Regions from separate parts of the Homo sapiens genome. Here all the other regions are linked to region 3. Evidence: promoter capture Hi-C in 16 types of primary human blood cells and fetal thymus (Javierre and others, 2016). All regions are on one chromosome and are shown on one strand. The core of a region is centred on a gene start or on the middle of the fragment in contact, and the rest is flanking DNA. Distances in the headings are between cores, read along the strand shown.

The links. The method cuts DNA at HindIII sites, captures the fragments that hold promoters and counts their contacts. A CHiCAGO score of 5 or more calls a contact.
Region 1: the fragment with the promoter of PHPT1 here is called in contact with the fragment with the promoter of ENTPD2 in region 3 in 3 of 17 cell types (naive B cells, M1 macrophages and non-activated CD4 T cells); the score reaches 5.0 in naive B cells.
Region 2: a contact is called between the fragment with the promoter of ANAPC2 here and the fragment with the promoter of ENTPD2 in region 3, in 1 of 17 cell types (naive B cells). The highest score is 6.6, in naive B cells.

The regions. Positions count from the first base shown.
Region 1 is chr9:136,848,080-136,851,345 of GRCh38, forward strand. It overlaps PHPT1 (phosphohistidine phosphatase 1), which reads left to right and starts at 1,330. Exons shown (of 3, transcript NM_014172.6): 1 at 1,330-1,511; 2 at 1,934-2,058; 3 at 2,676-2,945. The coding sequence starts at 1,352. The coding sequence ends at 2,768. AJM1 (apical junction component 1 homolog) reads left to right here. Exons shown (of 3, transcript NM_001080482.5): 3 at 1-722. RefSeq lists silencers at 272-501, 722-781, 862-941, 1,122-1,181, 1,572-1,651 and an enhancer at 1,302-1,581. The HindIII fragment of the contact is 15,345 bases long and covers 1-3,266 here.
Region 2 is chr9:137,187,275-137,190,665 of GRCh38, forward strand. ANAPC2 (anaphase promoting complex subunit 2) reads right to left here and starts at 1,286. Exons shown (of 13, transcript NM_013366.4): 1 at 1,142-1,286; 2 at 207-829. The coding sequence starts at 1,258. It overlaps SSNA1 (SS nuclear autoantigen 1), which reads left to right and starts at 1,402. Exons shown (of 3, transcript NM_003731.3): 1 at 1,402-1,504; 2 at 1,792-1,991; 3 at 2,533-3,092. The coding sequence starts at 1,453. The coding sequence ends at 2,640. RefSeq lists an enhancer at 1,194-1,413 and a silencer at 1,444-1,793. The HindIII fragment of the contact is 11,278 bases long and covers 1-3,391 here.
Region 3 is chr9:137,052,811-137,055,965 of GRCh38, forward strand. ENTPD2 (ectonucleoside triphosphate diphosphohydrolase 2) reads right to left here and starts at 1,251. Exons shown (of 9, transcript NM_203468.3): 1 at 1,071-1,251. The coding sequence starts at 1,187. It overlaps LOC105376327 (a long non-coding RNA gene), which reads left to right. Exons shown (of 2, transcript XR_930455.2): 1 at 1-65; 2 at 200-565. RefSeq lists silencers at 1,237-1,306, 1,407-1,486. The HindIII fragment of the contact is 4,509 bases long and covers 1-1,372 here.

The DNA.
Region 1 (3,266 bases), core at 80-2,579, 200 kb before region 3:
TCTGGGCCCTGCAGGAGCTGGGAAAAACCGCAGGGAGGTCTTCAGGCCGATATGCAAGTCTCCCAGCCGAAGGGGCAGGGGACCTGAACAGGGGAAGCAGAGCACCTGGGCCTGGCCAGAGCTGACACCTGGCTAGGAGAGGAAGGACCAAGGGACGGGGCGTTCCCAGGTGGGAGCCTGGAGGGCAAAGCGTGGTGCGAGCAGGTGAGGGAGAGAGCTAGTTGGTAAGCGTGGAAGCCCACCCGAGGGGGCTTGACCTGTCCCGAGAGGTCCCCGCACACCCGCTCTGGCCGCACGCCGTACTGCGGGCGTGGAGGCGCAAGCCCGGCGGCCCGGCCTCCACCTGTCCCCCAAGTGCACCCTGGTCCGCGCCCAGAGCTCTCTGGAGGGTGGGGTATGCGGGAGAGGGGTGGAGGCCAAACGCAAGGGCCCTCCTGGAGTCCCCAGCCCTACTTCGGAGCCAGGGGAGGGGGCACCAAGTGAGAGAAATTGGGCACCCCCGCCTCCGCTCCTGCTTTCGCACCCGGCACGCCCATCTCGTCCCCGCGCGTCTGCACCGGCCAGGCGTCCCGCTTGCCCACCCGCCGCCGCGCCCCGCGCCCCCTACCCCAGGGCCTCTGCATTCGGCCCCACCCCTGAGGGCCGGCCGGGAACGCCCCTGGACCGGAATAATTTCCAGGGGGCAAGAGCTTTCGAACCAAGTAAAATAGAACTTGAATGTAGCGGCTGCCGTTGCCTCCTTGTACCGGTAGCGGGGTTGGGGACGGAAGCCTTCGGTCGGTGGAGAGGAGAAAGGGAGAGGCCTTCGGGCGGTGGACGGGGAAGAGAGGGAGTCCTTCGGGCGGTGGAGGGGGTGGAGAGCGAGGCCTTCGGGCGGTGGAGAGCGGGGAGGGGGGAGGCCTTCGGGCGGTGGGAGGGGGAGAGAGGGAGGCCTTTGGGCGGTGGGGGCCACGGGGAGGGTGGTCTTCGGACTACGTGCGGGACAGGAGGTCAGGGCTGGCAAGTCCCTCAGGCCTCCCTCGTTGCCCCAGCCTCGCGGGCCGCCTAACTGCCCCGTTCCAAGGGTGCCACCGGACCCCGCTGGAGAGGAACTTCTCCGTTGGCTGGATTTCATCACCACCCATTCCCGATTCCACGTTTCCTTTAAGCGGGGCTGGCGGAGCCGCAAGGCGGCAAGGAACTGGATTGCGATTGGTCAGCACGTGCCTCGGTCGGCGGTACAATTGGCTGAGGCGCTGGGCCTTGGGAAGCATTCCCCGACGGGATTGGTCGTCGCTCTCGCAGAGCCCGCCTCCCGCAGTACAAGCGGCCCCCGGGTCGGGTGGGAGGAGGGGACTCCGGGAGGAGGAACATGGCGGTGGCGGACCTCGCTCTCATTCCTGATGTGGACATCGACTCCGACGGCGTCTTCAAGTATGTGCTGATCCGAGTCCACTCGGCTCCCCGCTCCGGGGCTCCGGCTGCAGAGAGCAAGGAGATCGTGCGCGGCTACAAGTGGGCTGAGTACCATGGTGAGGGCGGGACCTGCGGGCATGCCAGGGGCACGCCTGGCGAGGCGGGGGCGGGGCTGGCGGGACGGAGACGGGGCTGACGAGGCAGGGGCGGGGCTGGCGGGGCGGGGGCGGGGCTGCGGGCCGTAGCGGACTGCGCTCTGCTCCGAGTCCTGCCCCTGCTAGGTTTGACCCAGGCTGAGGTCCTGGGCGGGAAGGGCGTGACACGGCCTGACACCCTCCCCAGCAGTCTCCCAGTTCCCGCGCCCTCCCCGGTTCCACCCTCCTTCGCTCATTCATCCCTGTCCCAGCCTCAAGGGGCTTCGTCTCTCCTGGGGAAGGGGCTGTTCAGAGCTGGGATTTCAGACCCCTTCGGCTGGGAGTTCCTCCCGCGGCCTCCAAGGGCGGCCAGGGCACGTCCTGAGGCCGCCCTCCCATCCCAGCGGACATCTACGACAAAGTGTCGGGCGACATGCAGAAGCAAGGCTGCGACTGTGAGTGTCTGGGCGGCGGGCGCATCTCCCACCAGAGTCAGGACAAGAAGATTCACGTGTACGGCTATTCCATGGTGAGCCGCAGCCCCGTCCCGCCCTGCCGGAGGCCCCAGTACCAGCTTCGAGGCCCACCTGAGCCTGCTGCCCTGACCCGTGGCCCCAGCTGAGCACGCAGGCTTCCTGGGGTTCTCCCAGGGTCGGCGGCAGAGCCCTCCCTCCAGGGCCCATTGTGTTCCTGCATTCCCCCATGGAGCACACGCCAGACCTGAGGGGTGGGACGGACACCCCCAGACATGGCCGGCTGTCTCCTCTCCCTGCCTTGGGAGGCCTTGCTGGGCTCTAGCTGTCCTCCAGCACTTTGGGCCCTGGGCCCCCAGAGGCAGTCAGTACCTGGGTGGAGCTCAGAGTCCCCACCTGTGCTCTTCACAAAAACCACCAGCAGATGAGACCCACGTGCGTCCCTCTGGGCGCCTCAGGCCCCAGGATCCACCATCAAGGTTTGCTTGCCTGTGGAGGTCGCCTCTCCCCAGGGGAGCCCCCAAGGGCGGTCGGGATGGTGGGTTTGGCATCCCCAGGCACTGCCTATCCCTTTCCCACACTCGCTTCTGGTGTGGCTGGTGGCTGGATGCCCAGAGCCGGGTATCGGGTTGAAGGGTCCAGGTAGTGCCAGCAGGCGTCTTCTCTTCTCCAGGCCTATGGTCCTGCCCAGCACGCCATTTCAACTGAGAAAATCAAAGCCAAGTACCCCGACTACGAGGTCACCTGGGCTAACGACGGCTACTGAGCACTCCCAGCCCGGGGCCTGCTGCCTCCAGCAGCCACTTCAGAGCCCCCGCCTTTGCCTGCACTCCTCTTGCAGGGCTGGCCCTGCCTGCTCCTGCGGCAGCCTCTGGTGACGTGCTGTCCACCAGGCCTTGGAGACAGGCTAGCCTGGCCACAGAATTAAACGTGTTGCCACACCTGCCGGCTTCTGAACTCTGTCCTTGGCTTCCTGCACCCTGCGTCACCACCTCCGGGGGCCCCCAGACCCTAACTAAAGCAGGTGGGTGGGGGAACACAGGAGTGGCCCCAGGGAGTGGCGGTGCACACTCAGCCCTTTGGGGTCTGATAAAGGGGCCCGCTGATGGCCTGACTGCTCTTCCCACGGCCATCGTCCTCCAGGGCATCTTGGAGGAGGTCTGGCAAGCCCTTGCGAGAGGAGTCAGGGCCTGGTCCCTCGGGCTGGCCAAGACCTGGGGCGCCCACCAGTGCTCCCTCCTATGAGCCCATCCCAGGGCTCCCC
Region 2 (3,391 bases), core at 36-2,535, 130 kb after region 3:
CATGAATCTGTGGGACTGAAGGTGAGTGACAGAAGAGAGACACCTGTGTCCAGGACACGCTGCACAGGAATCCCTGGGACTCTCTCTCTGTCATGTTCCTGGTTATCAGGACGGCTCACCAGCTTTCTGCTGAGGCCAGCTGGACCCAGGGGAGCAGCGGGGAACCAGAAGGAGCAAGGGCATGGCCATCGGGACAGACTACTCACAAGACCTGGCTGAGCTGATGGAACTGCTCCAGAGCCTGGCGACACCAGCACTGTTGCTTGTCACTGCTGCACCCTGCACACAGCGGGCTCTGCAGGAGCCGGTAGTACCGGCGACGGGCATACCGGCTGTCCAGCTCCCCTTCCAGTTCCGGGTCTGTGCCCCCTTCCCCCTTCCTCTTACTCTGCATATAGACTCTCAAGAAGCACCCATACAGACGCTGGATCATCTCTTGGAAGGTTCTGGGGGTGCTAAAGAACAAGACTCCGCGCAACATAGTGTGGACTTCTTCTCGCAGCCCCTGAGCACCAGTGCCCATCAGCAAGCCCAGGCGAGTCCATTTCTCCAGCAGCTCTAGGCTACGCAGGTAGGGATCCAGGCGGCTCTCCAGCAGGCCAAAAGCGTCAAGGAGTAGCAAAAGGCACTGGGGCTCATCCGCAGAGTTCTCGCATTGGGAGATGGCATTCCAGAACTCAGGGGAGATGTTGGCCTGCAGATCGTTCTGCAGCACCTCCACGAACCACTCCTCCAGGACCGAGTGTAGCCCGTGGCCCCTCAGAACCTCCACCGCCGCCCGGAGCTCCTCTTCCTTTGGCGGGACTGCACCGCTGGTCCGGGAAGACACCTGGGGTGCAGAAAACCGTGAGGCGAGGGGAACACAACATAGAGGTGGGGAGAGGCGGGGAAGGGAAGAAGCTGAGGGGGAGGCTGCAAAAACTCCGCTGCCCCCTGTCCGTGCTGCCCGGACGTTGGGCCGAAGCTATGGAAGGGCTGTCAGCGGAGCTGAACGAAACGAAACGGAAAGGTGGTGGAAAATGGCAGGACAGGACAGAGGCGGATGATGGACAGAGCCGTATGAACCCGAGGGTAGCGGCCCCAAAGCGCGTACGGTCCCGGAAACTCCGCGCGGGGCCGCCCCTCTCTTCCCAGGCCTCACCAGCCCCAGCGCAGCCGGCGGCACCAGGCCGGTGCTCACGGTGTTCCAGGCCACTAACAACTCCTGTCCGGGCCGGGAGTCGCTGTCCCCCTCCGCCACCACAACTGCCGCCGCCATCTGCACCCACCGACTCCGAGATTCGCTCGGCGCGGCGCGCGGCGATGACGCACGTCTGCACGCGCAGCCATGACGCGCACAAGGCGCTCAGCGATGACGCGCTAGTTCGGCGCGCCGTGGGGGAGTCGTGCGCAGGCGCGGACAGCGCTGCTTCCGCGGCGGTTGGGGTGGTGGGGCCCCGGGCGGCGTTGACCATGACCCAGCAGGGCGCGGCGCTGCAGAACTACAACAACGAGCTGGTCAAGTGTGAGCGGCGCAGCCGGGACGGGGAGGTCGGGAGGGCCGCAGGGCCGGGTTCCCGGCTCGCAGCGGGGTGCCCCTGGACCCGCCTCGCTGCGGGCATCGCGCGGCTGAGCAGAGCCCTCCGTGCCGGAGGCCGGGTGTCCGTGGCCCGAGCCCTCGCTGGCTCGCAGGCCCCGCGCCGGGCGCTCGGGGGTGGTGCCTGACTCTGGCTTCCTCGGGTGGAAGGAGGCCCGCCCTCCGCCGCCGCGCTCCTGCCCTGGGCCCACAGCGCCGCCCCTCCCGGCCCCCAGGCATAGAGGAGCTGTGCCAGAAGCGGGAGGAGCTGTGCCGGCAGATCCAGGAGGAGGAGGACGAGAAGCAGCGGCTGCAGAATGAGGTGAGGCAGCTGACAGAGAAGCTGGCCCGCGTCAACGAGAACCTGGCACGCAAGATTGCCTCTCGCAACGAGTTCGACCGGACCATCGCGGAGACGGAGGCCGCCTACCTCAAGGTGGAGCTCGGGAGGCCAGGCCGAGCATCAGGGGATAGGCACGGCAGGGGTGTTGCCACGGCAAGGCGTCAGGACCGGCTGGGGCTCCCGGCTGTGGGCAGTCTGTGCCTCGCTGGCATTTCGGGCAGGGGCAGCGTGGCCAGGCCCATTGAGGAACCCAGGCTGCTGTGGGAGTGACTGTGGGGCTGTCTGTGGGGCCTGGGGCATCCTGGGTCCTGGTCTTTATCCGGTTCTCGCTAGCCATGTGGTTATTTCTGCTCAGTGTGAAGAGCCAGGTCTTGGGCAGAGCACCCAGCACGGGCCAGTGCTAACCCAGCCTGGCTTTGAGGGTGGAGAGGAAGTGTTTTGGGTCAGATTCCGGAGGGAAGAGGGCCCTGCCACCCCGTCTGCCAGTCCCCTTGGGCTTCCGCCTTCCCCCACACAGGATCCCTTGGCTACAGCACCCCCAGCCAGGTCCCAGCACCTGAGTGTGAGGACAGCTGGGGCTTAGGACCTTACCAACAGGTGAACATTAACAACCTTCTCACTTCTCTGGCCCCAGATCCTGGAGAGCTCCCAGACTTTGCTCAGCGTTCTCAAGAGGGAAGCTGGGAACCTGACCAAGGCTACAGCCCCAGACCAGAAAAGTAGCGGCGGCAGGGACAGCTGACCAGACCACGGGCAGGGCCTGCCTCCGTGTGCCCCTCAGCTCAGCCCCAGCAAGTGTGTGCTCAGAGCATCTTTGTTCTTCACGGCAGCAGCTACCTTCCCTCACTGTCTCAGGTGCCGAGAGGGGCAGGTGCCAGCCTCCACTGGCATCAGTGACAAGCCCAGGGCACAGCCCACCCGGGGGTCCTCGCTTCATGCTCACACAGGCTATGGGGATGGTGGGCTCCAGGTCAGCTCTGCAAGGGGCTTGTCTCTGTGGCACCCACACTCCTGCCCTGCCAGGGAGGCTCTGGTTGTCTGAGCACCATGGGGGCCCCCTCACCTTGTCCCTCCTCAGCCAGCAGAGGCCCAGGGCAAGGGACAGGAGGACAGGGGTTCTCCTTCACCACAGAACCCAAACCTCAGGTCTCACCCCTGTGGCCTGTGATTATGAATAAAGATTATCTTTGTAAAGATCCGTGCCAGCCTGCTGCTTGCCCGTATCAACAGCATGGGGCTGCCAGACACCTGCAGAGCCAGAGCCTGAGGCTCCCCCTTGGGAGAGGAGGGAGGAGGGTCTGGAGTGGCCTCCCTGTGACTGCCCCACTAGCCTCAGGGACACCGCTGAGGGTGCCCACCCTCCCCAGGCCAGCCCCACCCTGAGCCCTCCCCAGCAGGGCCGCCGGTCCTCTTCCCCTGACTGGCCCACGGCTCACCCTCCTCTCAGGAGCTCTGCTTGCTCGTCCTGTTCTCTGCCACACCCTGGTGGCCAG
Region 3 (3,155 bases), core at 1-2,500:
GATGCAGGAGGCAGGGCCCCAGGTGAAGAAGGTCCACCGAGGCTGGCCGTGGGCCTCAGAGCCAGGTCAGCTCTAAAGACACTCTCCCTAGGCCTCCAAGCCAGGGCCAGAGAGAGAGGCTGGCCCTGCCTTGTTGGGGGTGCTGGGTGGGCCTTCCTGCAGACCTGAGTGGCACGAGCTTGTAAATGCCCTTTTCCAGCTCCTGCCCCAGCATCCTGGATCCACCTGGAAAGCTGGGGACCAGCCTCCCAGGCCCGGGCGCCAATTCCAGCCTCCGAGAGGGCCGCACCAGTCCATCCCGACCAAGGCTTCCCCAGAGCCCAGAGCATCAACAGGTCAGCGCGTGCACCGCCACATGGCCGTCCTGCAGGGCCGCAGAGCTCCCTGCTTCTGACTCCCCATCAGGCTGGGGGACTTGGCTCTCCACCCCACCCCCCTACAAGCCCAATAAAGGGTTAAAGGGGCCGACCAGGAGGTCCCTGGGCCTGCTGGAGTGGAGATCCAGGCTAGCCTGCTCCAACCTTTTGAGGACCGGCCAGGGCTGCTCCGGTCAAGCCCTCCTGTCTTTCTGGGCCACTCTCGTGTCCTGGCGGGGGCCCTGGGTCCTGGGGCTTGTGGATCCCCATCTGGGCTGAATACCCAGTCGATGTGGCTCTAACCGCACCCTCCGGGGCGGCGGCACAGGGCAGAAGTGGCCCGGAGTGCCCCTGGGGGCCCGCACAGGCCTGGGGGCGGGCGTCCGGCAGCACCCAGGGGGCATCGCTGGGCTATCCCGGGAGCGGGGACACAGCCCCTGGGCTGCGTTGACGGACTCGGCGGCGGGCGCGGAACTCCCGGGACTTGTTCCTTCAGCACCGCGTCGCCCTGGAAGCGCCACCGCCCCCCGCCCCCTCCGCGTACCCGGTCGGGGAGCGCAGAGCGCGGAACCCGGGACCCCACCCAGCCCGCCAGGAGCAGAGCACGGTGGGGGTCCCGGGCTGATCCTGCTCAGGTTCCCAGCCGCACCCCCTCCCCGGCTCCAAGCCCGGCCCGCTGCTCCCCAGACGTGCGCTGGGTGCCCGGGCGCGCACCTTGAGGGCGGGCGGCTCCCGGACGTCGCGGGTGGGGACGCACAGCAGTAGGAGGCCGGCGAGGCCCGCGGCGGCCAGCAGCAGCGGCGGCAGCAGTGACCGCACCTTCCCGGCCATGGGCGGGCGGGCGCGCGGGAGGACGATGCGTGGACCCGGAGAGTGCGGGGAGCCGGAGGCGGAGGCGGGCGGGGCCGCGGGACCGCGGGGTAGGGGCCCCGGGGCGGGACGAGGGGCGGGAGGCCGGGCGGGCCCGCCCATCACCGGCCACGCCCACGGGCGGACAGGTTTCGCCTCCGCTCCCAAGCTTCCGCCGTCCGGCCCGCGCAGGTGAGAGACGCGGGCGCGGCTGAGTCACCAGCACCGCCCCCCGGCTCCCGGGTCTGAGCCCGGGCGCCCCGCGGCTATGGCCCACCTTCCCCTTCCCGCCCACTCAGCAAGGGGATCCCCCGGCCGTGGAGGCAGGAGACCTGGCGTGGGGGTGGGCGGGCGAGGCTGGCTCGGAGGGTCCTGTGCTGGAGAGCCGCGCTTTTCCCGGGCCCGGGAAAGGAGGCCAGACTCGCTTGCAGGAATGAGGCACTGTCGGCTGCGGAGCCACGCGGGGCCCGGGCTGGGGACTCAGGAGGAAGCCGAGGGTCAGCACCTGTTTGTGGAGCAGGGCCCTGAGCGCCAACTCCCAGGGCTGGTGAGGACCAGGCTGGCCTGCGGGATGCCCTCCCGGCCAGCAAGGATCCGCCAGCCTGCGGCGCTGAGCCAGCGCAGGTCAGCTCCAGAGACACGCAGCTGACCCAGGCCAGAACTACCCTTGAGGCCCAGTCAGATCCACCTCACCTGGGCCCTGTACTGAGGTGAAGGTGAGGACGCAGGAACGGGGAAGGGGAGGGACGGCCCAGGTCACACCGAGCCGAGAAACAGGAGAAGCAGCACAGACCGGGCCAAAGGTCCATACCTCCCAGCCCAGGGCCTCAGCCGCGCCTGCTGCCCCCTCGGCCTGAGGGGAACAGAGGCTTGGGCTGCGGAGGCCAGAGGAGGCTTCCCCAGGACGGAAACAGGTGGGGCCTCTACGTGGCCTGAAAGGCAAGGAAGAGGGTCCCCAGGCCAAGCTTGGGGTGCGGGTCAGCAACAGGCTTCTGGGGACGGCTGGGGCAGGCGAAGCGCAGCTGGCCCCAGACGCAAGCCCTGCTCCTCCGTCCCACGACATGGCTGGCCTTTCGGCTCTGCAGCCTCACAGGCCCCGCATCCCAGCCCGGCCAGGGGCCACCCCCTTTGCGCCTGCTGCAAAGTGGGAATTCTTGTCCCAATAATTCCAGCCACACAGCGTCAGGGAGCCACGAGGCAAGGCCACCAGGGAGTGCAGGCTGCTGGGGCCCAAAGGGCAGCCCCATGGGGCAGGGTCCAGACCATGCCCGGCCTTCTGGAACGGGCAGTGACAATTGTGCTGGGATTGCTGCCTGGGCTGAGGGTCTGGCGCCACAGGCCCAGTAAAGGCATCTTTCTTCCAGCTCAGGACCCCAAAGGGAGGGGTGGGAACCCTGGGAAGCCTCTCTGCTGCCTCAGCCTCACAGCCCAGCCTGGCGGGGCTCCAGCAGGCAATCTCTGGGTGTTGCCGGTGCTAAGCTCCAGGCCCCAGGCCCCAGTTTCCCCCCACACACCCCAGGCCTTTCTTCCACCCCTGACCGCCCAGAGGAGGGAGAGGCACGCACAGTGCACATCATGCCTGAAAAGGAAGGAACAAAGGCCGCCCAGAGGCAGGGTGCTGCGACCCCCACTGGCCTGCGGTACCCCGCTTCCCTCCAGGCCCAGCGGGGCTTCCTGGTGTTCTGGACTCTTTTCATGGACAAAAAGCTCAAGCCAGGGAGTGGGAGGTCTGCCAGGCCTGAGAGGATGGGGAGGGAGAGGGGAGCTGGACTCTGCCCCGGGGAGACAGGCTCATGGCCGAGTGCCCAGCTTCGCCTGCGGAGGGAGAGGCAGGGAGCCCAGAGCGGCCAGGACAAAGGCTGAGGCTGAGCTCTCTTTGAGACGGAGTGAGGGCGGGGGAACGCCCCTTCCTGGCATGGACTCAGGGACCCTGGAAGGCAGACTTGGGAG